Linked DNA regions of Homo sapiens: region 1 is linked to region 2. Evidence: promoter capture Hi-C in 16 types of primary human blood cells and fetal thymus (Javierre and others, 2016). All regions are on one chromosome and are shown on one strand. The core of a region is centred on a gene start or on the middle of the fragment in contact, and the rest is flanking DNA. Distances in the headings are between cores, read along the strand shown.

The links. Contacts are between HindIII fragments. The CHiCAGO score rates a contact against its expected background, and 5 or more counts as called.
Region 1: the fragment with the promoter of NUP58 here is called in contact with the fragment with the promoter of POMP in region 2 in 2 of 17 cell types (naive CD8 T cells and naive CD4 T cells); the score reaches 8.2 in naive CD8 T cells.

The regions. Positions count from the first base shown.
Region 1 is chr13:25,300,241-25,302,940 of GRCh38, reverse strand. It overlaps NUP58 (nucleoporin 58), which reads right to left and starts at 1,316. Exons shown (of 16, transcript NM_014089.4): 1 at 1,061-1,316. The coding sequence starts at 1,167. RefSeq lists enhancers at 1,021-1,070, 1,181-1,260, 1,421-1,660. The HindIII fragment of the contact is 2,784 bases long and covers 585-2,700 here.
Region 2 is chr13:28,657,807-28,660,506 of GRCh38, reverse strand. POMP (proteasome maturation protein) reads right to left here and starts at 1,377. Exons shown (of 6, transcript NM_015932.6): 1 at 1,320-1,377. The coding sequence starts at 1,322. RefSeq lists a silencer at 1,445-1,504 and an enhancer at 1,725-1,884. The HindIII fragment of the contact is 5,788 bases long and covers 1-2,700 here.

The DNA of each region.
Region 1 (2,700 bases), core at 67-2,566, 3.4 Mb after region 2:
GCAGGGTTGTGGAACTGGAAATAAAGACAAACAGAAATGGCAGAAGTAACATTATCAGAACCTGTTGTTGAGCGAGTAGAGTAAGAATAACGGAGGTATGGATGAAAATTCAAATTTCTGAATTGACTGTGTAGTCCGTGGTTCCTCCTCCCTCCCTTTTTAAACTGCAGGTCATGCTTAAGTATTTGCCTTTTAAATCTACAGCCACATCTTTTAAGCTTCAGGAAGTATCTTGTTGACAGTGTGCACACTCCTTAACTTTATGAACCCCTCCACCTTTATCTTAAAAAAAATTGAGTTCTAAAGCTTAAATCTCTCATTAAAATGTCTCACCACTTTGTTTCTTTCTGGATAGTTATGTTTTTGTCGCCACCTGAACTAATGGGTTGCACAAAAACAAGGAACATGCTACCTACGTTTTGTAATTTAAGTAAAAGACAAATTGAGTTATTACAACACAACATTCTCGCATCAGATATACTAATCTGCACATACTGCAGAAAATTACCACTAATAAACACTGTAAAAAAGTGTTTTTGTTTTTTTTAACAAAAACAGATAAGGTCCCATGTGGCACAAAAGCTTGAAAAGCTGGTTAAAAACCACAAAGTTATTAAAACACCGTCATATCCAAAACCGCAAATGCTGCAATGAAATCGGAATTATCTATCATAAAACTCCACAGTATGCTATAATTTCATTCATTCATTCAATGTTCATTCTATGCCTAAGACTGACACATCGCTAAAGCTCCGGGGTAGACCCCAAGGCCCTTCCACGCAGTCAAGACCCCACTAGGTCCAAATAATGCCTGAACTATACGTGGATTCTGGAAACCTCACAGCACAGAACCCATCCCGCCCTCCACTTCACCAGGCCGCGCTGGGCCCGGGTACCGCGGCGAGAGGCCTACGACGCCGGGCGGCTAGATTAAGTGCTTCTCTCCAGCCCCACTGGGAAGGAAGCCAGAGGGAAGAGACAGGATGGGGACACCAAGGGAGCTTTGCGGGGGTGGGGGTGGGGGTGAATCCGGCCCAGGAAGGCGAGAAAGTGCGGTTACCTAGACGCTCCCGTTCCGAAGGAGAAAACGCCGCCTGTGCTGGTCCCGCCGGCGGCCACGGTGGTGGAGCCCAGAGTCCCGGACCCGAAGGAGAACCCTGTGGACATGTCTGGCCAGGGCTCGACGCCGTCAGCAAGGCGAAATGGGTCTGGGACACTTCTCTCGCCTCAAAGCCGAGGCGGGCCGGGCAGCATCTCTCTCGCCCGGCACGGACCTGGCGGGAACTTCCAGCCCCAACGGCGGCGAAGGCAAGGCTGAGGGGGTGGAGCAACCACGCAAAAGTACGCCCGGCGCTCGCCGCGCGCACGTAGCCCGCCGGAAGTGTAACCGTCACGCAATGAGCCCTGGTACGTGAGTGGGGGACGGCGAGCCGCGCAAGGTACGCTGGGACCAGGCGAGAATAGGCGTACTGCCTAATCTCTTAAAGGAGTAGGCTCCCAGAGTTTAAAAACAGTAAAACCATTTCTGTCATTTTTTAGTTCTTCTATCGTAGCATCTGTACTGACATAATCCGCACTTTAGGGTGATGAATGTCAATTGCTACTTCTATCTAGCCTCCTGCCAAAATTGATGCTCAGAATCGCAGAATCGGGGAGGTCCCTCCTGAGCATCTCTAAGCTCCCCACTCAGAAAAGGAGGCGGCTTCGGGCTTTCGTTGGCTGCCGCCCCATCCCTAAGAAGGAAGGGGAGCGTGTCTGCTTCCTGAAGGTTCGGAAATCAATCGAAAATAATCCATGCAACCGTCCCACGACGTGAGCCCCACCCCTGCGCCCCAGGCCTCGCGGAGCCAGTTGGTCGCAGTTGTTGCGAGCCCGACGCCCAGCCCCGAAGGGGGCCCAGAAGAGCGTCCCAGGCGTCCGTGGGGTGGCCGGCTGTGGTCCTGGCGCCCAGAAGTGGCCAGGCCCGCTGGATTTCCTGGGATGCGGTCAAGTCCACAAATACTGTCCGTGCATCCTGATGCTGGAGGGCGGGACCTTGGGCCGAGCGAGTGTGGCTCCGCCAGAAGGGCCCTCGGACACAACCGGTGCTGGAGGAACTACAAAGTGGAAGGATTAGGAAACGCACAGGAACATGTACGAAAGAAGGCGAAATGTGAGGTGTAACTTACATTTCTAGGATAACTCAAGAAAAATTCGCGTTTAAAGAGAACCTCTCTGGCGAAGCATCAGGAAAGGCTTCCTGGTGGTGGTGCATTCGAGGGTTGTCATCATAGTGTTAGTTTTTATTTTTCCCTCAGGGATTGTTACATTACTCCCCCAAATGGTTTTCCTACTCGTGATCTCTAACAAAATCCATCCCATAAGCAACCCCCGGATTTATGATCTAAAAAGCCCAGTGGCTCTTTAGTTTGGCACTTGATGACCTCCGTATGATTAGTCTTTCTAACCTCATCTCACAGTTCTCCCTAATTCAGTACTTTAATCTTCCGTTGAGCTTGGGCATTGCCACCAGCTGTGGACTGAACTATTTCCCTCCTCCCCCAATCCATATGTTAAAGCCCTACCCCACCCCAATATGTTGGTATTTGGAGATGGAGCCTTTGGGAGGTAATTCAATTTAGATGAGGTCACCTTGGTGGGTCGCCCATGGCGAGATTAGTGCCCTTATGAGAAAAAACAACGAAGAGCTTGTTCTCCTCT
Region 2 (2,700 bases), core at 128-2,627:
TTTAACACACCTAACCTACTAAACATCAGGCCTTAGCCTAGCCTACCTTAAATGTGCTCAGAACACTTACACTAGCCTACAGTCGGCCAAAATCATCTAATACAAAGCCTACTTTATTAAAAAGTACTGGGTATCTCATGTAATTTATTGAATACTGTACTGAAAGTGAAAAACAGAATGGCTGTATTGGTACTCAAATATGGCCTCTACTGACTGTGTATGGATTTCACACCATCATAAAGTCAGAAGATTGTTGAACCACCAGAAGTTGGGGACCTTCAGCAGAGATGTGTGATTGTTGCTTTCCAAATGTATCTTCTATTACTTCCCTATATGAACATTCTCCTCCTTCTGGACTGCTTTATTGTAAAGTAACAAGGTTTCAACGCACAAAGAAAAGGTGAATTCTGACTTCTGGATTCTGTTATTGTCATTTTTCCCAATTTCCTTCTGTAAAATATCAAGATTAGTACTTGCTGTTTCTAATAAAGGAAGGAGCCGAGAAAGGCAAATCTACGAAAACCTAACTACTAGTTACATTTGAGAGTGCCTAAAAAACTTTTTAGATAACGATTAGCAGTATTTACCAATAGAAACTTTCTAGATTTGGATGGATGGCCTACCAGCAGTACCGATATCAGAGTCTGTGGCAATGGTGACTCAGTGTTCTTCTCAAATACCACAACTTCTAAGTTAAAAAGAAAGAGAAAGTGGTGGGGAGGAGAAGGAGGGAGGAGATATACTAACAATACTGGCAAACAGGGAATAGCAACTGTCTGATTTTTTCCCCTCTAACATCTAGCACACTACAAGCTCTCAAAAAAGTTTGTAGAGCAAAGCTGCGTTACACAAATGCGACCTATAGTTGTGGGCTGTTTACTAGGCAGTTACAAGGGCGGGGGCTGGGGGAGATGAGGAGTCTGAGAGCTCTGGGCTCCCAGAGGTTACCCGTCAAGGAAAGGGTCGCCAGCGCCACCCCACAGAACGTTGCACTTTCACGGCTGCCTTTTCCACTTCTGCGCCAAGTAAGGGGAGGAGGTCTGGGCCTGCTGGGGTCTAAGGGATGGAAGGGCGCAAACCGAGCTAAGAGGAGCAGGATGAAGCCGAAGCACTGCTAGTGGGACTAGTGCCGGGCCCCGGCGACAGTCACGACCCACCCAAACCCCGTGACTCGACAGATTATGGCGCCTGAGGCCGGCCTCAGCCCCACGCTGCCGCCGCCGCCGCCACCGGGGACGGGTTGGGAGGCGACTGCCTGTTTCTGCCGAGCCACGGTCCCGAGCCCGCGTGGAACTCCAGCCGCCCGGGTACCCACTCACCATCTTCCGCAGCTCTGCGAACAGCCTCTCTGCCCCGTTACCGTCAGTCGACCCCGCCGCTCACTTCCGTTTCCGAGGGCTGGCCCCCACATCCGCCGGAAGTGCGTCCGTCCTGGCGAGGAAGGAAGGAGGGCGCGGGACGCCGGAGGGAGCTGCGCGGGGCCGAGGCTCCCACGCTTGCAATCCCAAGGGACCCAGGGCCAAGGGCGCAGTAAGGGTGTGGGCTGGGAGGAGGGAGGGGTCGGGACGAGACGTGCCTGAGGGGAGGGAAGACACGGACTCCGGTTTATTAATAAACATCTACGGTTTGTACGGCATTTTAAGATGTGCAGTGTGCTTTTGTAGGTACATCGCCTTATTTAACACAAAACCTCTCTGAGGTAGCTATTACATTTCACAGAAGGGTAAACGAGGCGTAGGTGGTTTGAGTGATTTGCTTGAGATCGTTCGGCTAATAAAGCAAAATTGGGACACAAGGCTTTTGTCATTTTTAAAAAACATAATATTGAAGGCCTGGTATGTTCCGAACCCTGTGCTGAGGCTAGGAATACAAAAAAGGACCAGGCCGGTGTGGCCTCTGGGCTAGAGGAGCAGGGGTACTCCGGAGGCTAGAGGGGAGAGAGGGGACGATAGTGACTACAAATTAAGTAAATGTGATCATGACCGACATATGTTGGGCCCTTTGAATTGCGTTATCAACACAGTTCTAAGTGCTTACATCCTTTATCTCTTTTAATCTTTTCAATAACCTTACAAGTACAATTTACAGGTGAAGAAACCGAGACATGAAGGGCTTAAATAAATATGCCTAAGGACATATTTATGAGTCTAGAATCCATGCTCATTACACTATTCTGTATTGTTCAAATATAATGTAATAAAACGGCCTTATAGTCTGCTGCCACAGGATGGAGACATCTTAGGGAATCTTTGGACTGACAGCTAAAAGATAAGAGCGAACTAGTTTGGGGTAGTAGGATATTTAAAACAACATTACGTGCAGATCTGCTTGTGCAAAAACGGAACTGGAAAGAAGGCCTAAGTCTGGCTAAAGTTCAGAAAGTAAAGTGGAGAGTACTGTGAGATGAGGTTGTAAGTAGATGGAGGCAAGTGGTTTTTGTTGTTGTTTTTGTTTGTTTGTTCTAAATAATGATAGGGTTTAGCTATGTTGCCCAGGTCTGCGTTGAACTCCTGGGCTCAAGCGATTCTCCTGCTGCAGCCGGCTGAGTAATGGGAACTACAGGCGTGCATCATGGGACCTAGCTACAGGTTTTTTATGCAGCCTTTGTAGGCAAGATTAAGGATGAGGCTTTGTCTTTAAAAAGCCATCGAAGGATTTGAGAGAGGAAAATGATAAGGCCATATATGTTATGTATATCCA